5 separate regions of the Homo sapiens genome follow, and regions 1, 2, 4 and 5 are each linked to region 3. Evidence: promoter capture Hi-C in 16 types of primary human blood cells and fetal thymus (Javierre and others, 2016). All regions are on one chromosome and are shown on one strand. The core of a region is centred on a gene start or on the middle of the fragment in contact, and the rest is flanking DNA. Distances in the headings are between cores, read along the strand shown. Region 1 overlaps MIB2 (MIB E3 ubiquitin protein ligase 2). Region 2 holds the start of NOC2L (NOC2 like nucleolar associated transcriptional repressor). Region 3 holds the start of UBE2J2 (ubiquitin conjugating enzyme E2 J2). Region 4 overlaps CDK11A (cyclin dependent kinase 11A). Region 5 holds the start of SSU72 (SSU72 homolog, RNA polymerase II CTD phosphatase).

Evidence for each region. Contacts are between HindIII fragments. The CHiCAGO score rates a contact against its expected background, and 5 or more counts as called.
Region 1: a contact is called between a fragment that was not itself captured here and the fragment with the promoter of UBE2J2 in region 3, in 1 of 17 cell types (fetal thymus). The highest score is 5.1, in fetal thymus.
Region 2: a contact is called between the fragment with the promoter of NOC2L here and the fragment with the promoter of UBE2J2 in region 3, in 6 of 17 cell types (naive CD4 T cells, M1 macrophages, endothelial precursors and 3 more). The highest score is 7.8, in naive CD4 T cells.
Region 4: a fragment that was not itself captured here is called in contact with the fragment with the promoter of UBE2J2 in region 3 in 1 of 17 cell types (naive CD8 T cells); the score reaches 6.7 in naive CD8 T cells.
Region 5: a contact is called between the fragment with the promoter of SSU72 here and the fragment with the promoter of UBE2J2 in region 3, in 4 of 17 cell types (fetal thymus, total B cells, total CD8 T cells and 1 more). The highest score is 6.8, in fetal thymus.

The regions. Positions count from the first base shown.
Region 1 is chr1:1,620,082-1,624,820 of GRCh38, forward strand. It overlaps MIB2 (MIB E3 ubiquitin protein ligase 2), which reads left to right. Exons shown (of 20, transcript NM_001170687.4): 3 at 3,350-3,618; 4 at 3,693-3,864; 5 at 4,714-4,739. The coding sequence starts at 3,372. It overlaps LOC124903821 (a long non-coding RNA gene), which reads right to left. Exons shown (of 3, transcript XR_007065352.1): 3 at 4,676-4,739. Among named protein-coding and RNA genes, the nearest start is that of MIB2, 7.0 kb to the left of the region's middle. The HindIII fragment of the contact is 8,411 bases long and covers 1-4,739 here.
Region 2 is chr1:956,287-960,909 of GRCh38, forward strand. NOC2L (NOC2 like nucleolar associated transcriptional repressor) reads right to left here and starts at 2,970. Exons shown (of 19, transcript NM_015658.4): 1 at 2,929-2,970; 2 at 2,643-2,795; 3 at 813-987; 4 at 608-739. The coding sequence starts at 2,954. It overlaps KLHL17 (kelch like family member 17), which reads left to right and starts at 4,298. Exons shown (of 12, transcript NM_198317.3): 1 at 4,298-4,514. The coding sequence starts at 4,408. RefSeq lists enhancers at 2,238-3,095, 2,754-2,863 and silencers at 2,974-3,233, 4,192-4,501, 4,522-4,623. The HindIII fragment of the contact is 14,217 bases long and covers 1-4,623 here.
Region 3 is chr1:1,271,549-1,276,104 of GRCh38, forward strand. UBE2J2 (ubiquitin conjugating enzyme E2 J2) reads right to left here and starts at 2,306. Exons shown (of 7, transcript NM_058167.3): 1 at 2,118-2,306. It overlaps LINC01786 (long intergenic non-protein coding RNA 1786), which reads left to right and starts at 2,454. Exons shown (of 3, transcript NR_185846.1): 1 at 2,454-2,933; 2 at 3,255-3,751. RefSeq lists enhancers at 438-946, 947-1,453, 1,454-1,961, 3,152-3,790 and silencers at 2,151-2,730, 2,891-2,940. The HindIII fragment of the contact is 5,565 bases long and covers 1-4,556 here.
Region 4 is chr1:1,713,664-1,717,913 of GRCh38, forward strand. CDK11A (cyclin dependent kinase 11A) reads right to left here. Exons shown (of 20, transcript NM_024011.4): 5 at 2,683-2,815. Among named protein-coding and RNA genes, the nearest start is that of CDK11A, 8.6 kb to the right of the region's middle. The HindIII fragment of the contact is 1,554 bases long and covers 2,055-3,608 here.
Region 5 is chr1:1,571,558-1,576,314 of GRCh38, forward strand. It overlaps SSU72 (SSU72 homolog, RNA polymerase II CTD phosphatase), which reads right to left and starts at 3,306. Exons shown (of 5, transcript NM_014188.3): 1 at 2,921-3,306. The coding sequence starts at 3,000. It overlaps SSU72-AS1 (SSU72 antisense RNA 1), which reads left to right and starts at 3,390. Exons shown (of 1, transcript NR_197593.1): 1 at 3,390-4,757. RefSeq lists silencers at 2,790-2,869, 3,110-3,269 and enhancers at 3,390-3,499, 3,510-3,579. The HindIII fragment of the contact is 11,232 bases long and covers 1-4,757 here.

The DNA of each region.
Region 1 (4,739 bases), core at 1,561-4,060, 350 kb after region 3:
CCATCCCCCCAAGGGCAAGATTTGCCAAAGCACAGGACACATTGGCTCACACATGGGGCACCCTGCCCCTGTCTTTTTGGAAAGGTCCAATGGCATATGGCCAGCGGGTCGGGCAGGTGTGGCCGCTGGCCTGGGCTAAGCTGGCTGTGGCTGAGAGTCTGGGCGCAGAGACAGAAGGCGCCCCCTGCTGCAGAAGGATCACAGTGTGGGCTCATGGCATTGGCTTTTTTGCGGTCCCAAGTCCTTCATCTCCATTGCCGGGCCCATCTCGGGGGTCGGCAGATGCGTGTCCCCTACTAGCAAAGACCTCCAGTCGGTTCTGCGGCTGCCTGTGATGAGCCCTGCTCTGGCTAAGTGGAGGTGTTTGGCAGGGAGGAGTCCCCGGCTTAGTGTGATTCCAGCTGTGGCCGATTCTGGTGGGATCCTGGCAAGGAGGAGGTTGCGTGTGGATCTGGTGGAGGTGGACGGCCTGGCAGGGGGTGGGGTCTGCAACCCTAAGGAGCAGTGCCCCTCTCACTTGTCCCCCCGCCAGCAGACTGCTGCGTCGGCCTCCCCGGCCTGTGCCATTCTGTGGCGAAGGTCCCTGTGTAGAGGAGGCTGGAGTGGGGGAGCTCAGCCCAGGCCATGCCTCACCCTTCTTGGGTGCTCCATGGGCAAAAGCTGAGGTCAGTTTGTGGATCCTGGGAGCAGGAACCCTGCAGAGCCTGCCCCCCAGCTGGTGGCAGAGCAGGCAGTGGGGAGCTGCTGGGGCAGGAGGGAGTGACCTCCCTCCAAGACAGCCCCCAGTGGGGATGGGAGGGTCTGCAGAGATCTGGAGAGTCAAGTGTCATGACCCAGGTGGGGCCATGGAGCTGGGCTGGCCGGTGGAACTGTGTCCACCTGGACATGCTCTGGGTGAGGCGCAGTCAGCGCTGGGATGGCTAGAAGCGGCCTGTGCTGGGCGGGTCCTCGGGACACAGGGGCTGCCGCTGTCACAGAAGCCTGGCACAGATTCTCTCTGGTTCTTATGTTTCATTCATGCAGCCATTCAGTCAAAGCTGAAGCTGGTGGGGTCCTGGCCAAACAGGACGCAGCAGTGCACCACCTGGGGGCTGCCCTCAGAGGCCCCGCGAGGGGAATAGTGCCACAGGGGCCCATGGGGAGGGCCTGTGGGTCACCCTGGGTGGTGGGTGGGCTCCTGGCTCCGCGGGGCCTCCGAGGGCAAGGTGGGGTTTCTCTGGCTGCCGGCTGTGGAAGCCGCTCATGCGGAGGCCCAGCCGGGAGGCTGCAGGAGGCCGTGGGGAGGGCAGAGCCAGCTGCCTTCCCTGATGGCTGTGGAGCTGCCCACGGGACCCCTCTCCTTGTCTGGGGCTCACTGGTGCCACAGGAAAAGGAAGCCCCGGTGCTGGAGCCTGCCCTGGCCCAGGCCTTGGTGCACATCTCGGCAGCGTCACCCGACAGGTGAGGGAGGCAGCGTCACCCGACAGGTGAGGCCTCTGGACAGATGAGGCCATGTGGGGTTTCCCTGAAGAAGCAGAGCCCGGCTGCTGGGTGGGGGCTCCTCTTAGTCACTGACAGGGAGAGCTGTGCTTGTAAAACATCCACCCATTCCTGTGGAAGCTCTCGCGGTCCTGGGCAGGGTGAGGAGGGAGCATTGGAGAGGCCAAGCTGGCCAGGAAGTTTGTGCCCCTGAGAATTAGAGGGAGTCCTGTGCTCCAACTCGCAGCCGGGGCACGGATCGGGGGCACGGATCGGGAGCCCAGCCCTGCAGGCAGAGCCTCTGCACTGGACTCAGTCTCCGGAGTGGGGCTGGGCTCCTCACCGGGCCTTGCTCGGGGGACAACCTGTGGGGCTCAGGCCCCTGAGTCAGAGCAGGAGTCGGGGGCTTTGCTGTGGCCCCTCCTCACTGCTCACCTGCAGCCTCTCCCGGGCCAGGGTGTCTCCTGAACTGGCCTGAGATGCAAAGCACTGGGTTGCAGTGCTGCCCAGGTGGAGGGCTGGCCTGTGAGGCCCAGGCTGGCCTGTGTCCTGGAGTTGGCAGGGCCCCCTCCCATCCTCAGCCACATCCACCCAGTCTCAGGGGTCCCTCCAGCCTCCTGGGACTGCCGTGTCCCCCACCTCTGCTTCAGGCAGTGTTCCTGGGCTGCCTCCTTCCCTGGCCATGGGGTCCTAGTGGTTTAATGAAAATTGAGTGGTGGCCCTCCCCTCCCCGCCAGGCTGGAGTGTAGTGGTGCGATCACAGCCAGCTGTAGCCTCCACCTTCTGATTTTCCCTCTTAATGTTCACATCCATTCTTCTTGTTAACGAGACTGTGCTGAAGCCCAGCATGGTGGAGAGAGGCAGCCCACGGTGACTCACGTCTGCAGAGTGAGCTCTCGGGGGTCAGCGCCCAGACTGGGGATTAGCAGTCCTGGGCCTCGAGCCCTGTGGCTGACTCCATCCCTGCCTCCGGCAGCCTGGATTTGCACCTTTGTATAAACGGAGCCGCCTGGCATGGCGTTTGCACTTGGCTACTTCCCTCCATCTGCTGGTGAGCTCTGGCTTGTGCTCTGTGTGGCGAGTGGGTCCCTGCTTGGTTGGGACTCAGCCCCGCTTCAGGACCCCGTGGCCACTGAGGACCCAGGAACCTGCCTCTGCTCGAGTATCCGGCCTCTGTCGTGAGTGCCTTGCGTGGCCAGGGCCACTTTTCCAGAGAAGGCTCTGTGGTGCTGTGTGGCCTCGCTGCACTGTCCCTGACGTGCAGGGCCCAAAGCTGGTGTCCCCCAGGAGCAGTGTCTGGGGACAGATGCCTCCTGGTCCCGCTGGCCGATGCCTGCTGGTCTTGTACGGCGCCTGCATCGTGTTTGCCGTTTTTCTGTTGGGTTGTCTGACGTTTTCGTGTGGATCATAGGAGTTCCTCGCCCTGTGTGGACACGAGTCCTCTGAGGGACGCGTGTCACGGTGTCTGCTCACTTGCCACTGCCCGTCCAACCATGTGAGTGTCTCGGGGGACGGCAGCTCTTACTTTAGTGAAGTCCAGTGTCCAGCTCATTAATTGGCTGTGGGAAGAGATGGTGGTTTTCTTCCGAGAGCGTTATTTGTGAACCTTTCATGAAGCCCCCGGGGCCAGGCTCCCTGATCCCTGGGCCCAGACCACCCTGCAGTTCCCGCGCCAGGCTGGCACGGCGCCCGCCTTTCCCACCGGCCTCCCTGGTGCCAGACTGCGGGCCTCCTTGGGCCCTAGGGCTTGAACCAGCCTGCCTGCCCCGTTGGGCCTCTCTGCTCTCCCGCGGAGCCCACTCTGACCGGGAGTGTCCCATGGTGGCCTGAGAATACCCTCTGCCCACAGGTCCCGAGCAGCCCGGCCCACCATGGACCCCTCTGCCCACAGGTCCCGAGCAGCCCCGCCCAACATGGACCCAGACCCCCAGGCGGGCGTGCAGGTGGGCATGCGGGTGGTGCGCGGCGTGGACTGGAAGTGGGGCCAGCAGGACGGCGGCGAGGGCGGCGTGGGCACGGTGGTGGAGCTTGGCCGCCACGGCAGCCCCTCGACACCCGACCGCACAGTGGTCGTGCAGTGGGACCAGGGCACGCGCACCAACTACCGCGCCGGCTACCAGGGCGCGCACGACCTGCTGCTGTACGACAACGCCCAGATCGGTGCGCGCCAAGGGCAGGCGGGACGGGCAGGACCCGGGGGCGGGAACGCCCCTCTGACCCCACCCCACCCCCAGGCGTCCGGCACCCCAACATCATCTGTGACTGCTGCAAGAAGCACGGGCTGCGGGGGATGCGCTGGAAGTGCCGTGTGTGCCTGGACTACGACCTCTGCACGCAGTGCTACATGCACAACAAGCATGAGCTCGCCCACGCCTTCGACCGCTACGAGACCGCTCACTCGCGCCCGTGAGTCCCGGGCCGCACCGGCTCCTGTGCGGCGGGTACCCAGGCCTTGCCACTGGGGCCTTGGCCTTCGGGGAGGGTGCTGCCTCCTGACCGCTCCCAGGAAGACGGAGCAAGTCTCTCCAGAGCCGTGGCCTTAAGCAGTGGTGCCATGGGCAGGGCACAGAGGGTGGCCTCTGGGTGGCTCTACAGGCAGCAGTGGCCATCAGGCAGCCAGCATCCCCCAGGGCGGCATGAGACCTCCAGGAGGACAGCCCATACCCGGAGCCAGCACCTGGGCTGTCTTGGAGGCTGCTGCGCTCTGGTCCGAGGGCATCAGCTCGGGGAGAATCTAGCCTGCTTGGGGCAAGGACAGCCAGAGGTGCCACCCCGTCCCCTGCATTTGTCACCTTTGTCTCTGGCCCTCCCTGCACGTGGAGGGAGGTGTGGTTGTCTTGGGAGTGCTGTTGGCCAGGCCTGCTTTCCTCATTCCTCCCTTCCCACATGCTGAGCCCACCTCTGGGCCTGGCTGTGCCCCAGCTCACTGGGAGGCAGCAGGCATGAAGCGACCGCACCCAGAGGTCTTGCCGAGGGTGGGCCCGGGTGCCTTCCCAGCCTGGCATCAGGGAAGTCCCTGGAGGAACGTGGTCCGCAGGTTCGCTCCAGGCCCCTGAGCCCAGGGGCATTTCCTCACAGCGTGTGGAGGATGCTGACCTGCTGGACCGGCCATTCCCGGGCAAGAGCTGGGGCTGCGGAGCCCAGCAGGCTGGGTGGACAGGGGGCCTGCTCCACTGCATCGCTCTCCCAAGTGGCTCAAGATGGGAAGAGATGGCGGTTTTCTTCTGAGAGCTTTATTTGTGAACCCTCTTGCAGTGTCACACTGAGTCCCCGCCAGGGCC
Region 2 (4,623 bases), core at 1,720-4,219, 310 kb before region 3:
CAGAGAAAGGCACCCTCACCCTCACCCTCAGACATAGGGCAGAGGTTGGGGGGAGGCACAGAGCCCCATACTGATAACAAAAATGGAAACAAAGTCTAGAATTCTCTGGGAAGAGGAGGGAGTCTGGCTCAGGAGCCCCAGGAAAAGGACTGGGAGTTCCAGATCCTGGACTATGGCCACCTCCAGGTGGTATCTGGAGCTCTCCGTATCCTTGTCCCTGGAAAAAAACACTGTGAGAGGCTCAGAAGGACCCCAGCTCCACCAACCAACAAAGGCACAGTCCGTCCCACCCACAGCGGGACTGACTTTGGGGAGTGGGGCGCCAACAGAGCCCCTGGAATCTACCCAAAAGTGAACACACAGTCCTGGGGCAACCAAGCAAGCAGGAGGAGCAACGTGTTGTCACTTGCGCTGAAGAAGGCTCCAAGCGTCCCCTGCGTGGAGAACAGCCCCTCCCACCAGCACAGCCTCAGGCGCCTCAGGTGAGGCAAGGCCAGATCTCTGCCTGGGCACCCAGCTGCCCGCCCCTCGCTGCTGCTCACCTCAGGTGAGGCAAGGCCAGATTTCTGCCTGGGCACCCAGCTGCCCGCCCCTGGCTGCTGCTCACCTTTGCTGCCTGCTTCCATCTCTCAACCATGGCGACGGTCACAGGAACAGAATTCTTCTTCCCCTTCAGCCCTCTGGGGACTCTGTCCCCATCTTCTCCTTCCTCCGCTCCATCCTCCTCCTCACTGGCTTCCTGCACAGAAAGGCTGAGCTGAAGGAGAGTGTAGAGACAAGTGCCCCCCTTCTGGTTTGGCCCACGCCCTCACCTCCAGCACATCTGGCAGGGAGTGGAACGGCCCCTCTTCCTCCTCAGAGCTGTCCGAGTCGCTGAAGTTTAGCAGGCTCTGGTCATTCTCCTGCAGGAACTTGTAGAACTCGGGGTCTCTGTCCTTCAGCCGAGAGAGCTGGTCTTTGTGCTCAGAGGCACGGCCTTTACGCCGGCTGAGGAGGCAGAAGTCAGCGACCCCAGTGGGAAGTGGAAGTAGAGGGGGCGGGGAGTGGCCTACAGGGTCAGTCTACTCCCTTCACAAGGGTTACCAACTAGCAAGACAGGATTGCCAGGAGGTACGTTTTTGGCAGACTCACGTCTCCTACCCAACAACCTCTACAACATACCCTCAAACACACTACACAGGCCCCCCAGCCGCGGTCTTCCCTGGACTTGCTGTGCCTGCGCCCTGCGCTACACAGGCCCCCAGCCGCGGTCTTCCCTGGACTTGCTGTGCCTGTGCCCTGCGCTACTTTTGCCTGATGGTGGCTTCACCCTTCCAGAGGCTCAGACTAAAGGCAAATCTCTGTCTCTAATACCCAGCACGCAACTTGTCATCAGATCTCATCAGCAACACCTTCAAAACCGTTCGTGCCTCCTCTCAAACCACCACATAGTTCAATTCTCAGTTAACCTAAAGGTCTCTCTGTTTCCACCCTTGTCACCTACAAGGCACTCCACCGCTCAAACCCAGAAGTAACTCCCTGTTTTACGAGGCAATCTTATGACGGTCTACGGCACCTGGCTCTTCATCACCCTTCTGGGCTCATCTACCCCTATTCACCCCCTCACTCCTGCCGTAGCCACGTTTACCTCTGTACTCTCCCCAAATGCTCCCACTGCAAGGCTTTTGCTGTTTTCTGCTGCCTGAAATCCTAAGACACGTTTCCCCTACTGTCTGTGTGGCCTCCTTGTTCGAGGTCTTTATTCAGACGTCATCTTCTCAAACAACCACCTCCGCTTTTTTTTTTTTTTTTTTTTCTCCTGAGGCGGAATCTCACTCTGTCGCCCAGGCTGGAGTGCAGTGGCGCAATCTCCACTCACCGCAACCTCCGCCTCCCGGGTTCAAGCGATTCTCCTGCCTCAGCCTCCCGAGTAGCTGGGACGACAGGTGTGTGTCACCACGCCAGGCTAATTTTTGTATCTTTTGATTTCTTTCTTTTTCTTTTTGAGATGGAGTCTCACTCTCTCACCCAGGCTGGAATGCAATGGTGCCATCTCGGCTCACTGCAACCTCCGCCTCCCAAGTTCAAGCGATTCTCCTGCCTCAGCCTCCCGAGTAGTTGGGATTACAGGTGCCCACCACGCCCGGCTAATTTTTATATTTTTAGTAGAGACATGATTTTTCCGTGTTGGTCAGGCTGGTCTCGAATTCCTGACCTCAGGTAATCTGCCCGCCTCGGCCTCCCAAAGTGCTGGCATTACAGGCGTGAGCCACCGAGCACAGCCTCCGCTCCTTCTAACAGAGCAACTCGGCTCCCCTGCAACTCTCTCTTCAGCCCCTCTGTCCTTCCTTTCCCTCCCCAGCACTTATCTCTCTTCTACCGAACTGCAGGCGGTGATTTCACCCAAGAACGTGAGAGTTCTCCTAGATCGGGAAGAGATTTTTGCACAACTCACCAACATACGCTCCCTGCCTAGGACAGAGTTTGGCACGGAACAGGAGCTCAGTAAACATCGGATGAAAGAGTAAGTTAAGCTGAAAGGACTGGGGGGCAGAGGTCGGCGATCCTTAGGCCTTGGCCCTGAGACCCCAGGCGAGGTCAGCAACCCAACCGGGGTGGGACAGGACGAGCAAGAGGTTCTGCTCACGCATGTCCCCACTAACCTGGCCGAGGGGCTCCCGCCCGGCTTATCCGGACTCCGGGCAGCCTCGCGTGCTTCCCGTGTCTCCGCTTGTGGAGAATTTTCGGACTCGGATTCGGACTCGGAGTCAAAGCCCGAAGCTAGGAACTCGTCCACCGTCAGCTCCGCCAGGCGCCTGCGGGTCACGCAGGAGTCACAGCTGCCCGCACGCCCAGCTCGCCCCAGCCCCGCTGAGAGGAGCAAGAAAAGCCCCCTTGGATACAGACACCCACCGGGAGGCCAAATCGGCCCTCGGACCCGCGGCTTACCTCTTGCGGCTCCCCGCAGCTGCCATGACACCAACCCGAAGCGTGCACCCCACTTCCGGCCCCAGAATGCCGCGCGGCTGCGCACTTCCGCCGCCCAGGCCCCGCCCCTTTCCCCGCCCCGCCGCGCCACGCCCAGCCGAGTGGCTCTATGGTTCTCCGACCGCAACGCCGGCGGCCTCAGGGCGGGAGGGCGCGTTCGCGTGCTCGGTGCGGGCAGCCCCGGTGGGGCCCAGATGCGCCTCCCGCTCGGCGCCCGGCTCCGTAGGACGCGGTGACGCCGGTGTCCGCCCCGGGGAAGACCGGGAGTCCCGCCGCGCCCGCAGCCCACCCGGCGCTCCGAAGGCACGCGCCTGCGAGGACGCCAGACTGCAACGGCGGGGCTCCTATGCAAAGAGCTCCCACAAATCAACAATAAAAAGCAGGGAGTCCAGTGGAAAACGCGAGGGGCAGTGGGAACCGCACTGATGTCGCCAGCTCGACAAAAGACGGGCGACCCGAGGGCCAGGCTGGCTTCGCCTCCGATCCGCGGAGACCGGGCCAGCGCCACGAACACCACGCAGGGCGCTCCCCGTCCATGGCCCTCTGGGTGCCGACCGCGGCTCTTCCCGGGGACGCCGCACGGGACGAAGACGGTGGGGAGGCCGGCGCCTTCCTTCCCGCTACCAGCCTGACACCCGGGCCCCCGGGCCTGGACAGCCAGACCCCGCGACAAGGGCGCCGCGGGGCGCAGGCACGGCTCCCCCAGCCCTGGCGCTGAGGGGGCGCGTGAGGCGAACACGGGCGGATTGGCCTCGGGGTCCCATTCGACTTCTTGGTGCCGCGGGGCCCCGGGGCTCCCCGGAGGAGAGCAAGTTAGGGGGTCGGGGGAGCGGGGATGGCTTCCGGGGGAGGAGGAGGGCGAGGCCTGGGGGGCTCCTCGGAGGAGGAAGAGGGCGAGGCTTAGGGGGGCTCCTTGGAGGAGGAGGAGGGCGAGGCTTAGGAGGGCTCTTCGGAGAAACAGGAGGGCGAGGCCTGTGGGGGGCTTCCCGGGGAAGAAGGAAGGCGAGACCTAGGGGGGCTTCCCGGAGGAGGAGGAGGAGGAGGGCTAGGCCGGGGGCTTCCCAGAGGAGGAGGATGGCGGGGCCTGGGGGGCTTCTCGGAGAAGGAAGATGGCGAGGCCTAGGGGGGCTTCTCGGAGGAGGAGGAGGGCGAGGCCTGGTGGGGGGCTTCCCGGAGGAGGAGGATGGCGGGGTCTGGGGGTGCTTCTCGGAGGAGGAGGCGGACCCGGGGCGCAGCGCTGGAAGAATCCGCGTCCAACGTCTAGTCCCCGAAGCCTCTCGGGAGGCGGGGCGGGCGGCGCCGAGAAACAGCGGCTGCGGGCGGGAGCGGCGGGAGTGAGCGACACAGAGCGGGCCGCCACCGCCGAGCAGCCCTCCGGCAGTCTCCGCGTCCGTTAAGCCCGCGGGTCCTCCGCGAATCGGCGGTGGGTCCGGCAGCCGAATGCAGCCCCGCAGCGAGCGCCCGGCCGGCAGGACGCAGAGCCCGGAGCACGGCAGCCCGGGGCCCGGGCCCGAGGCGCCGCCGCCTCCACCGCCGCAGCCGCCGGCGTGAGTGGGCGGGGGTCGGGGCGCGGGGGGCGGCCTCGGGACCTGCGCGGCCCCCGCCCTCGCGTCCGCTCGCAGAAGGGGCGGGGGCCGCTTCCGAGGGCCGGGGGAG
Region 3 (4,556 bases), core at 1,056-3,555:
CTGCTGTTTCCCCAGCCACTCTTCCTGAGCTTCACACAGAACAGCATTCTCACGTCCCCCAGGAGGCCAGGGGGCTATTTCCCCCAATTCTTCTCATCCCAATATGACAGCAGGAAGGACAAGGAAAACAAAAATTCACAAAGGGGCTGGGCGTGGTGGCTCACACCTGTAATCCCAACACTTTGGGAGGCCCAGGCAGGCAGATTACCTGAGATCGGGGGTTCGAGACCAGCCTGACCAACATGGTAAAACCCCGTCTCTACTAAAAATACAAAATTAATCAGGCATGGTGGCATGTGCCTGTAATCCCAGCTACTCGGGTGACTGAGGCAGGAGAATCACTTGAATCCAGGAGGTGGAGGCTGTGGTGGGCCAAGATCAAGCCATTGCACTCCAGCCTGGGCAACAAGAGCGAAACTCCGTCTCAAAAAAAAAAAAAAAAAAAAAAAAAAAAAATTAGCCGGGTGTGGTGGTGGGCACCTGCAATCCCAGCTACTCTGGAGGCTGAGGTGGGAGAATTACTTGAACTCGGGAGCCGGAGGCTGTAGTGAACTGAGATCATGTCACTGCACTCTAGCTGGGCCAACAGAGACCCTGTATCAAAAAAAAAAAATTCCACAAAGGAAGCAAACTGTGAGAACAGAGTTTGAAGCATATGTGCCTCGGGTTCCCTTCAAACATCCCCACAGACAAAGGACACCAAGCATATCATCCTGCTGAGAGAAAGAGTTGGCGATTTTAAAACAAAAAGGCACAGGAAAAAAAAATGTTCACACACAGAAACTGCATTAAAGCAGCGTGAATCACCGAGGGCAGCTGTGCCCAGGTGCTGAGGCAGTGGCTGCCCAGCGTCCCTCACCCGTCCCTCTTTGTCTGGACAGCTCTTTCCTGCTTAGGGGATGTGGCAGGAAACCTTGGCCTGACCCATCGGCCAGGCGCATGGCACACCCAGGTCCAGGACTGCCAGGGAAGTCTCTGCCTTCTCCACCAGACTGCTCCGGAGGCTGGACGGAAGCCCGGGCCGATGGAAATGGGACACTCACCTGCGACTCACACATGCACCTGCCTGGGTCACCTGCCTGTCACTCATCCACGCACCTACCTGCCTGGCTCACCTGCCTGTCACTCAAGCACTCACCTACCTGCCTGGCTCACCTGCCTGTCACTCACGCACATCCCTGCCGAGAGTGGAACTGCTAAGGAGGTCAGCGGTGCCAGGCCGTGCAGATGACGGACTGCAAGTTCCGGGCACCCAGACCCAACCACGCCCTAGGCTCAGGTGCTAGACTAAGCGAGATACTCACGATCCTTTCTTCGGAAGCCAGATTACACAGTCTGGTTCCCCTGGAGCAGGGCGCGGGGCCACCGACCTGCCCCAGCCAAGCCCGCTGTACACTCTTCGCTGCCCACCTCCCACCGGGCTGAGGCCCGACCTTTCAGCCGCTTCCTATCTGGGTCTGGCAAGAGGATGGCAACCGGACTAGAGTTAAATACACACGCACTAAGTGGCAGGCACTGAAAAGGACGCCAGGAGGTGACACCTGGCCAGGGGCTGAAAGGATGCAGGGAACTGGCAGGTGTGGATGGCGAGGCCCGGCGCCGCTTAGAGACTTGTTCCGGGCTCGTGTCTCACTCGCCGGCCGGCGGTGGTCTCCCACTGTCACCGCCCGGGTTTCCCAGAAACGCTGGCCCTAAGCACAGTCCCGGGCACGCTCGTTTCTCTCGGGGTTTACGGGGCAGTCTGGAGTCTAACAGTTCAGGGGCGAGGCGACGGCGGGCTCGACGGCAGCCCTCCCCCGACACAGACTCCCGTGATCCACTGACGAACCAGGATCGAGGCTGCCCGTCCTGGGGCAGCTGCAAGTGTCCCAGCTGACGGGAAACCCGGCCGAGTGGTCAAGTCCCCGACATGACCCTGACCCGGAGCTCCGGGAGCCCGCCGTAACCGACCTCGGGTTCCGCGCAGGCAGGCTCGGGCCGGGGCCCCGCGGGCGGCGGGCGCGAACGGAGAAGCGTCGCGCAGGGTCCCCAGCAGCCCCGGGCCGCCGCTGTGGCCGGCTCCGGCAGGGGGGACGAGCGGGCCCGAGGACCCGGCGCAGGCCTGCGAGCGCGCTCACCTCTCCCTGTCGCTGCGCGTGGGCCGCCGCCGCGCTCAGGCTCGCCGTAGTCGAGGCCGGAGCAGGGTGCGGAAAAGCGGGGCCCGCGCCCGAAACAGCCGCACCGCCCCGGGATTGGGCCCACCGAACCCGCCGCAGCGCCGCCGCCGCCGCCTCAGCCTCCAAGATGGCCGCTCGCGGGGCGGAACCAGCCTAGCTTCTGCTTCCGGTGCGCGGTCCGGGGCGGTGAGGAGGGAGGGGGAGGGCTGGCCGCTCTAGGCAGACTGGCGGACCGCGCCCACGACTCTCTGTCGCCGTCGACCCCGGGGTGGGGGATGGGGCGGGGGGCGGGGCGGCGCTTGCGCACTGGCGGGCGGCTCCGGGCACCGTTAGTGGGCGCGAGAGCCCCAGACCCCGAAGCCGCGCGCTTCCCTCCCCATGTGCCACGGCCCAGGGCGGCAGGCCCGGCTGAGGGCGACCCCGGTGGAGAAAGAACCCCGACCCTCCCGCCTCCCGGCTCCCGCCTTGTCCTCCGCTCCCACGCCCCACCCGGCCCTTAGGGGAGGCGCGGCGCGGCCCGGGCATGGAGCGTCCCGGGCCCCTGGAGGCTCAGTGGAGGGTTGGGCTCCAGGGAGCTCAGAGCTCTCTCGTTCAGGGACCCGAGAGTGACACGCGTGGCATCTCTTTGCAACCCACGTCCGCGCCGCAGCACCCTCCCCTGCAGGTGCCTGCCCAGCCCCGGGATGCCCCTGACCTCCCCTTGGACAGACTGCAGAAAGCGCGGGGCGCTGCGTCCTCTCCACCTCTCTCTGACCCCAGACACATTGGGAGAGAGCGGTAGGTGGCGGGGCGCTGGGGTGGGACGCTGGGGGCAGGCGCGCAGCCCACCGCCTCCCTGAGAGGCCGCTGAGGACAGCGGGGAGCTGAGGGTGGTCCCCTGGTGGGGGATCAGGAGGTGGACCTCGCCACCTGGCTGCCTGTGGCCCTCTCCTTTGCCCCAACCCTGACTGCCTCTCAGGAACAACCACAGGTCAGCAAGGTGGCTGAATATTGAGGGTCAGTCCCGCTGTGGCTACGGGCAGAGGGCAGGCTGTGTCCATGCTCAGCCCTGACTCTGGCCCTCTGGGACACCTTGGTGGGTCTGAGACGTTGCTGCAGGCCGTGGGGCAGAAGCCAGGAGGAGTGTCCACGCAGCCTCAGCCCGTGGGAATCCAGCCTGCCTCCATTACTGCCGTCACCGGCTCCACCTTCGGAGAACATCTCAGCATCCAGCCTCCTTCCTCTGCCTCCTCTCAGGCCTCTGCCGTTCCCATGCAGGGCAGGCCAAACTGTTTTCACAGCATGGAAAGTTATGTGAGGGAAGCCACACCGGCCGCAGATACAGGCACCAGCACATCCACTCGCATGCACACTCACGGCTGTGGCCCGCGGCAGATGGAGGCCCGCTCTGCCTTGTCTGTCCCTCAGTAGTGTGCGATGACAGCACACCTGTGGGGGCCCTGCAGCTGGGAAGACTGCAGCGAGGCTCAACTCAGAGGCCCCTGCTCAGGAGCATGGCTGAGTCACACCCCAGGGAGAAGGTGCCCCGGACAGGTGTGGCCAGCACGTCTTGCCAAGACCCCACCACCCCACCCACCCGCATCTGTGGCCTTCTGGTAAGCAGGACACAGGCTGCCCAGGCCTCTAGCCATAGAGCCGATGGCCTTGGCCAGTGGGATCGGCACAAGCAGCTAGGTTGGTGGCAGATGGTGGCTGTAACCTTCTCAACCCTGAGATTGCCCTCTGAGGGCAGGAGCAGCCCTTCTGCTGTGGGCCAGCCCTCCGGAGGGACTTCCTCTGGCAGCTTCAGGAATAGGACAACAGGGACCACCCTCAGCATCTTGAGCAGCGGGGGGCACCCTCTGCTTTGGCAACCAAGAAAACATCCCCCAACCCAGTTACCACCTCCTGCCCCCACCTCCTCCAGCCCCCAGGGTTGGACCAGAAAGCCTTGGCTGCCTCTGAACAGCAGGGATTGTCTGGCCAGGGGATGCTTGAGGGACAGAGAACCCAGCCTGGAGGGTGCAAACTGAGGAAGGTCTCAGTCCCTTTAGAAAGTTTGTTTTGCCAAGGTTAAGGACACACCCATGACATCTCGGGAGGTGCCCAAGGTGCATGTGGCACAGCTCGCTTTTATACATTTTAGGGAGACATGATTTATTTACACGGGTTCAATCTGAAAGAGCAGGATAAATTGGGGTGGTGTGGGGAGACCTCTATGTTATAGGCAGATTCAAAATGATCCTGACCGACAGTGGTTGAAAGAGTTATTATCAATAGAAAGGAATGTCTGGGTTGCAGTAAGGGGTTGTGGTTTTCCACGCAGCTGAAGCCTCGGGTTGCCGGCTTCAGAGAGAATAGATTGTTAATGTTTCCTATCAGACTTAAGGCCTGTGTTGATGTTAATGCTAGTCAGCTTTT
Region 4 (4,250 bases), core at 1,582-4,081, 440 kb after region 3:
GTAATTATTTTACACAATCGTAGTTCCAGTAAAACCTAAGATGTGAGGAGAGATATTTACAGGATATTGACGTCAACCTACACTTGCTATCTGCAGTGCCTGTCCTTCCTTCCTGAGGATTCAAGTTACCGTCTGGTGTCATTTCTATTCAACTTGAAGGTCTTCCTTTAGTATTTCCTTTAAGGCAGGTTTCGCCAACAATGAATCCCACCAGTCTCTGCTTCTCAGGGAATGTCGTTCGTTCCCTTTCACTTGTGTAGAACAGTTTTGATTCCTGGCTGATGGTTCTTCTCTCTAAGCAGCTTGAGTATGCCACTCCACTGCCTTCTGGCCTCCATTGTTTCTAAGAAGTCAGTGGCTGGCGGTATTGAAGCTCCCCTTTCATGGGATGGGTCATTCTTCTCTGAGCCCTTTCAACATTTTCTCTTTGGCCTTTGCCAGTTTGACTATGATGTGACTTTGCATTTATTCTAGTTCAAACTTCCTGTGCTCTTGAATGTGCATATTTTTTAATTAAAATTTGGAAAGTTTTTAACCATTATTGTAACAAATATCTTTCCTCTCTCCTGGAACCCCCATTCGACGTGCTTTGGTACAGCAGATGTTGTACCACGGGTTTCTGAGGCTCTGTGCATTTTTCTTGTTTTTTTCTCTCTGTTCTTCAGAATGGATAATTTCTACTGCTCCATCCACAAGTTGTTTCCAAGCCTTTACTAAATTCAACATCTGGACACTCAAGACAGTTTCTACTGATGATGTTCTTCCTCAGTACGGGTCACACTGTCATACTTCTTTGTATTTTAGATAATACATTTGTAGCAATTCTGGATTCTAAGTTTTCCCTTTCGTTGTTACCACCAAGGCCTGTCTGGTTGTCCGTGAAATCCATCTCCCTCATAGCTCATGGCCACCCCGTTCCTTCCCACATGCCTATTTTAATTTTCAACCTTGGCTTCCTAGGGGTCACCACCATGGCTGCACAGCTTAGCAATTAGCCAGCACTGGAAAAAGGCTGGGCTCAAATACCTCGAGCACAGTAAGGCTTCCTTGGCCCACGGCTGTGTGTGGACAGGGAGCACACTGAACGTTCAGGCGTCATTCGCATCTGTGGCGGCTTCTATTTTCTGCTAGGTCCTTTCACGCAGCTGCATCCTCAGGGCTGGTCACAAGTGGGTGGCGGCTCGAGCTCTCTCCAGTCTCTGCTGCACGTCTTTGGCGGGATCACAGCTGCTCCCAACCACACTGTACTTCATTCTAGCAGACCTCTTGGCCTTTTCCTCCCTCCACTGAGGATGCTGGTGGGCAAGGCCACTGCCCACTGCTCTAAACGGAGTAACCCCTTCCAAGGCAGCAAGGAAACTGCAGGTCCTGCAGCTGCCCTGTCCCAGTGGAACCTCCGTGCTTCCAAGTGCAGAGTGGAAGCAGTAAAGGGAGCAGCTCTCAGGCCAGAAGGTCAGATTCTTACTGCTTTTACCCACAGCTCAGCAGTTTTCCAAGCATCAGTGCTTCTCAGATTATCCTTATCAGTTTCCTTTTTGTCAGAGACAAGGTCTCTCTACGTTGCCCAGGCTGGCGTCATGCGGTCCTCTGGCCTTAGCCTCCCACGTAGCATATGCTACCACACCCAGTTCTGGATTGGCTGATCTGAATCGGCCCTACCCAGAAGTCTGCCCCCAACAATTTTTGTTCATTCACTCTCCTGTCTTTACCTTCTGGGAAATCAATATGACAGCCCAAATTTCATCTACCAACCTCCACTTCTATCCCAAGCTCTACTCTCGTGGGACAAGACACACTCAATGTCTGGCACAGGGCGTGGCATACATGAATGTTTCACACACTAACAGGAACTAGGCCAACTGAAACCTTGCTCACCCAGCAGCGGTCTCGGACCTTGACCCCTGGGCCTCAGTGTCTCCCACACCCTTCGGCATCAACAAGAACCAGCGCCCTCTCATCATCTTTACATGCTGTGTACCCAGCCCTGGCTGCTGGCAAACATCGCTGCACACGCCCTTCCGCTTCAGACTCCTCTCTTCCTGGAGCAGCTTGCAAGCTTTCTGTGGACTCACTCTGAAGGCGGAGATGGGCCTGCTCGCACCTGGCCTACAGCCTTTTTCCTGGTTCACAGAACAGATCTGGGGCTACACCGATGTTCTTTCTTGGGAATCTGGCTCATAAAGGGGAACGAATATACAGACTAATGGCCAGGAGTCCTAGGAGTCCAGTGTCCCGATTTCCAGACTGTTTCAAGGTTTTTGGGATCTCCCTTCTCCTTTTTTTGAGACAGTCTCACTCTGTCAACCAGGCTGGAGTGCAGTAGCATGGTCATAGCTTACTGCAGCCTTGACCTCCCAGGCTCAAGGGATCCAACCACCTCAGCCTCGTAAGTGCTGGAATTCTAGCGTGAGCCACTGCGCCCGGCGGGACGTGCAGATTTCTGATCCCTTCATTGTCTTCCCTCAATCAAATCACACCCGTTCTTACTTCCAGATGCAGTGAAAACTCACTCCCTCAGGACAGTTCTCTTGGTCAGCCTCGTCCAGCGTTCACTGTGCTGTTTCCATGTCTACCACTTCTGCAACAAATGTGACTTCTATTGCCAAATTCTTCTTCATTGCTGTGACAGGACACACTACCACGGCCCTTTCATAAAGTCCTCAACTGACCCAGCCCACTCACCTTTCTCTCCTGGAATGCTCCCTTGCCATTTCCCTTCTCTTCTGTCTTTCCCATTCCCGGCGAGCTTTATCCTGTTCTTCTCGATGTCGTTTCCGACGTTCGTGCTCTCTTTCTTTCACTCTAGCATGCTTCCCTAATGAGAAATAAAGTGTCATGCAAAGAAACCTCACTTCAAAAATTTCACGAGGCCGGGCACGGTGGCTTACGCCTGTAATCCCAGCACTTTGGGAGGCCGAGGCGGGTGGATCACCTGAGGTCAGGAGTTCAAAACCAGCCTGGCCAACATGGTGAAACCCCGTCTCTACTAAAAATACAAAAATTAGCTGGGCGTGGTGGCAGGCACCTGTAATCCCAGGTACTAAGGGAGGCTGAGGCTGTAGAATCACTTGAACCTGGGAGGTGGAGGTTGCGGTGAGCCGAGATCGTGCCACTGCACTCCAGCCTGGGCGAAAAAGTGAGACTCCATCTCAAAAAAAAAAAAAAAAAAAAAAAAAAAAAAAAAAAAAATCACATGAAAATGAAATTAAATCAAGAACATTAAATATTTAAATAATGATGTTAAGTAATCCTAATCTTTTTTTTTTTTTTTTTGAAGAGACAGGGTCTCACTATATTGGCCAAGCTGGTCTTGAACTCCTGGGCTCAAGTGATCCTCCATCCTTGTCCTCCCAAAGTGCTGGGATTACAGGCCTGGGCCACTGCACCCAGTCGAATAATCATGATTTTATGTTAAATAAAAAACTTTGAAAATAGAAAACTATCTGCAGTAAGCGTCTAATTATGAAGAAAGAAGAAAAAAGAAAAACAATTCTGCTATCACAGAAGAGAATTGTAATATTCATCTTTTAAAAATTTTCTATACTGAATAAACTATAATTATCAGTTTTATAATACAAAAACCACTCTTCACAAAGACTACAGAACAAAGCTTTGCTATCAGTGGGCTTCTCCACTGTGCAATGAAGCCACATTAATTAATCAAGCGTATTTATAATAATGAGATTTCAATCGGGCTCCAGGTCCAATTTTCCTAACACCCGTAAGAATCTCCTGATGTTGGTACGAGATCAAACTGCTCAAGCCTAACCCATTCTTTGGACTTGAGCAAATACCCATTTTGGGGTGTGTTTTTCTCCTATACTTGTTGAATTCAGGTCATTTTAAATGTAAACAAACTGCTCCCAAACAATATAATGGGGGAGAGAAAACCCCAGAGGAAAAATGGACTAGCCATTCTGAATGGTCTGTGACACACGCACGCTTTCAGCTAGAGTTTGCTCTCTCTGGTTTTCGGTCTGTGACACACGCATGCTTTCAGCTAGAGTTTGCTCTCTCTGGTTTTCGGTCTGTGACACACGCACACTTTCAGCTGGAGTATCCTCTCTATAGCCCCTCTGAACGGTCTGTGACACACGCATGCTTTCAGCTAGAGTTTGCTCTCTCTGGTTTTCGGTCTGTGACACACGCACGCTTTCAGCTAGAGTATCCTCTCTATAGCCCCTCTGAACGGTCTGTGACACACGCATGCTTTCAGCTAGAGTTTGCTCTCTCTGGTTTTCAGTCTGTGA
Region 5 (4,757 bases), core at 2,056-4,555, 300 kb after region 3:
TCTTTTATGAGTAAATTTGAATGATGGCGGCACAGGTAAAAGCACACCCAAGAATTCATTATTCAGAGGTGCTCTCCGCTCCTTTTCCAGAGACCACAGCTCTGCCAGCAACGGCCACTGGCCACTCTGAACTAAAAAGGACTTGGTCATCTTCAGTCATCGTCTCAGCGAGGTTATGACTGGCATGTCTTTAAAGTAGCCGCTAAACCTGATTTTATTAACAAGATAGCTAAATAATTTTTTTTTTTGAGACAGAGTCTCGCTCTGTCACCCAGGCTGGAGTGCAGTGGCCGGATCTCAGCTCACTGCAAGCTCTGCTTCCTGCTTCCCGGGTTCACGCCATTCTCCTGCCTCAGCCTCCTGAGCAGCTGGGACTACAGGCGCCCGTCACTATGCCGGGGTCATTTTTTTGTATTTTTTGTAGAGACGGGGTTTCACCATGTTAGCCAAGATGGTCTCGATCTCCTGACCTCGTGATCCACCTGCCTCGGCCTCCCAAAGTGCTGGGATTACAGGCGTGAGCCACCGCGCCCAGCCCTAAATAGAATTTTTAAAACATTTCCTTTTGTTAAGATTTCTACTCCATCTTGCCAGGCGCAGTAGCTCACGCCTATAATCCCAGCACTTTGGGAGGCCCACGCAGGCGGATCACGAGGTCAGGAGATCGAGACCATCCTGGCTAACATGGTGAAACCCCGTCTCTACTAAAAATACAAAAAAATTAGCCGGGCGTGGTGGCGGGCGCCTGTAGTCCCAGCTACTCAGGAGGCTGAGGCAGGAGAATAGTGTGAACCCAGGAGGCGGAGCTTGCAGTGAGCTGAGATAGCACCACTGCACTCCAGCCTGGGCTACAGACTCCCCCTCAAGAAAAAAAATATATATTCTACTCCAACTTTATTTTATTTATGTATTTATTTGAGATGGAGTCTTGCTCTGTCGCCCAGGCTGGAGTGCAGTGGCATGATCTCGGCTCAATGCAAGCTCCGCCTCCTGGGTTCATGCCATTCTCCTGCCTCAGCCTCCCGAGTAACTGGGACTGCAGGCGCCCGCCACCACGCCCGGCTAATTTTTTTGTATTTTCAGTAGAGACGGGGTTTCATCGTGTTAGCCAGGATAGTCTCAATCTCCTGACTTTGTGATCCGCCCATCTCGGCCTCCCAAGGTGCTAGGATTACAGGTGTGAGCCACTGCGCCCGGCCTACTCCATCTTTGTTATGCAGGTACAGCAGAAAATCTTGAACAAAGGATCACCAAGGAGAACCAGCAGAACCAGAAGGTCTCCAGCCCATTTGTTATTCCAATTAACAATAATTTTGTCTTGGGGGGGGGGGGGTGAGCCTTGCATTGTTTTGCTTAAATGTATCAAATTTTTACAGGTAACTGCAGTTTATAAATGAAGATCCAGCACAATGTAATTCTAGCACATTTCTAGTTTTAAAAACAACCTTTGGCCGGATGCGGTGGCTGACGCCTGTAATCCCAGCACTTTGGGAGGCCGAGGCGGGCAGATCACCTGAGGTCAGGAGTTTGAGATTAGCCTGGCCAGCATGGTGAAGCTCCGTCTCTACTAAAAATACAAAAAAAGCCGGGCGCAGTGGCTCACGCCTGTAATCCCAGCACTTTGGGAGGCCGAGCGGGCAGATCACGAGGTCATAAGATCAAGACCATCCTGGCTAAGATGATGAAACTCCGTCTCTACTAAAAATACAAAAAAAAAAAAAAATTAGCCGTGCCTGGTGGCCGGTGCCTGTAGTCCCAGCTACTCGGGAGGCTGAGGCAGGAGAATAGCTCGATCTCGGGAGGCACAAGTTGCAGTGAGCCGAGATCGCGCTACTGCACTCCAGTTTGGGCGACAGAGCAAGACTCTGTCTCAAAAAAAAAAAAAAAAAAAAAAAAAAAGAAAGAAAAGAATAAAGAGAAAGAATCAGCAGATCATGAACACTTGACACTGATTTTTGGGGGGTGTTTTTTGGTCTCCAACTCCTGACTTCAGGTGATCCGCGTGCGTCGGCCTCCCAAAGTGCGGGGACTACACGCGTGAGCCACCGTGCCTGGCCCACGTGACACTGTTAAAAACGGAAAAAAAAGGGGGACTGTTAATTTTCCCAAGTTGCTCAGGAAAGTTATAGCTGGACTGCGAGAAGAGAAGCGAAACACTGTTTTCATTTAAAGTTCACGTAGGTAACTTTGGAGGTAAAAAAGCCATTTCAACTTTCTTACTATCAAAGTTGACACATACCAAATTTTAACTGTAAGTCAAGTGGTCAGTTTCTCAGTTTGCTATGTGACTGAACAAAAAACTTGTTATCAAGCAGGAATAAACTTTCATTAGACATACGCTACGCAAGAGTCACAGGCGGCCAGTTAGCAGGGAATATAAACTAGCAGAGCCAAACCAAGTCCACGTTGTATTCCAGAAACTACCGGTTGGAGGCGTTCCAGGGAGGAAGAGAGGATCTTTCGCAAAAAAAAAAAAAGAAGAAGAAGTAGCAAACACACAAATCCATGGCATTAAAAAAAGAGACCGCTTTGTTATTTACAACATCGTGGTATGCCGTGATTGTGTTGCGCGCCGTTTCCAGGGAAGGTGGCCAACGACGCACACGAAATACCATGATCGGCCGCCGCCGCGCAGCCCCTCGCCGCGGACGCTACCCTCGCCCCCCGGGCCCGGCCTCGGAGAGCTCGAAGGACCACCGGACAGCGGGCGCCTCGTCCCGGAACCTGCCTTCCCTGTGATGCCCACCCGCGTGTGGACTACGCGCGCTGCCGTCCAGCTGCCATCCCAACCAGCCGACCCACGAGCGCGGCCCGGCCCGGCTTCCTCTCAGGGGTCCTGGCGCGGGCCAGGGGGAACCGGGGAGGAGGGAGGGCCGGTCGCCGGAGCAGAGCGCGCGGGGACAGGGTGGAGCCCAACTACCTGAGGATGTTGTGCGCCTCCATGCTCCGGTTCTGGTTGCTCGAGCACACCACCGCCACCCGCAGCGGGGACGACGGCATGGCGGCGGCCGCAAATCCCGCGGCTCTCCCGCTTGGGTTCCCACCCTACCGCGGCGCTTCCGCGCGAACAAAATGGCGGCCGCGGTGGCCGGAAGCGGGCGACGCGAAACGACGGCGCCGGCGGTGTAGCGTGCGGCGACTGCGCGGCGGCCTCCCCGCCCACCCTGGGCGCCGGGCCGCGGACGGAGCGCAGGCACTGGCCTTCGGGCGCGCTGCACTCGGCGAGGCCGGGGGCGGCCAACGCCGCGCCGGCCCCCGGCGTCCGCAGCAGAGACCCGCACTCCACAAGGCCCGGCTGAGCGTCACGGCGCCAAGCGGCGGCGTCCTGACATCAGCACCCCGCGCCGGCGCCTAGTGTGACGCGACGACGTGCGGAACAACAGGACGTCATAAGGTGTCGCCGCCGCCTTTGGGAGCGATGCGAAACGCCGCGCTTGCCGGAGATAGCATTGAGGGCCCTTCCGCGGCCCGGCGTTTCGTCTCTTGGGACGATTTTGTGCGTTCCCTCGGTCCCCGTGGGGCCCATAGTCCTCACTTCTGCCACCCCAGAGTCGTCGCGCTTCACTAGACCCGCTCCCTCCACTGTCCCGGAGGCCCACAGACATTCCCGCATTCTGAGGCTCGCTCCCGTCCCGTGCCGCTGTTACCGGCCTCCGGCCCCGGCTCATACAAGCAGGAGCACATCGCTCTTTTATGAAAGCCCTTCAACATTTAACGTTTAAATGCGAGGGCCGACCTGTGACAGACCTGGTTGGGAGTGCACGTCGACTAGGATCTTCCTCGCCTCGGGCTTCCTTGGAGAGGCCGCCGGCTGGTCTGAGATTTGGGTCCAGTTACAGTAAATCCAGTCAACGCGAGTGTGTCATTCCCCAGCTATGCCTGTCTGCCTGGATGCAGCCTCGCGGTGGACAGTGGGCTGATGTTTTGCCGTGGGAGCGCCACGGACGGGAGAGGGAGTGATAATGATTGTCAACCTAATAACAGGCTAACTGAAAATGATATTTATTTGGGAATAGGGCGTTGGCGAATATGCGTGCCATAGTAAACGATTTGCGCATTCAGGAAAGTAATGGTTTTTAAAGAAAAAATGAAGAGGAAGATAATGGTTTGGAAATAATTAACCTTGGCTACAAAGAACAGTAACAAGTGTACTCCCGGCCGGGCGCGGTGGCTCACGCCTGTAATCCCAGCACTTTGGGAGGCCGAGGCGGGCGGATCACGAGGTCGGGAGATCCAGACCGTCCTGCCTAACCCGGTGAAACCCCGTCTCTACTAAAAATACAAAAAATTAGCCGGGCGTGGTGGCGGGCGCCTGTAGTCCCAGCTACTCGGGAGGCTGAGGCAGGAGAATGGCGTGAACCCGGGAGGCGGAGCTTGTAGTGAGCCGAGATCGCGCCACTGCCCTCCAGCCTGGGCGACAGAGCCAGACTCCGTCTAAAAAAAAAAAAAAACAAGTGTACTCCCGTTCCAGGGTTGGACAGGCAGTTGCTGGGCAGCTGTCCTTGCTGAAGTATTTTTTGTGTAAGATTGCCTTAGTGCAAGGTTGTGGTTTTTGCAGAATCTTGTGATAGTTTTTCTTATTATTGATTCATGAGAATTCTCCATGGCCTTTCCCAGCTGTCTTTGTCAAGGTATTTTTTAAACATAAGTGAGTCCACTTTTATTTGACAACTTGGGTATTTTCCCCTTTTGATTGAGATCTTTCTCCAAATGCATCACTAATGAGTCATCCTGTAATTAGGTTTTGATAGTCCCCG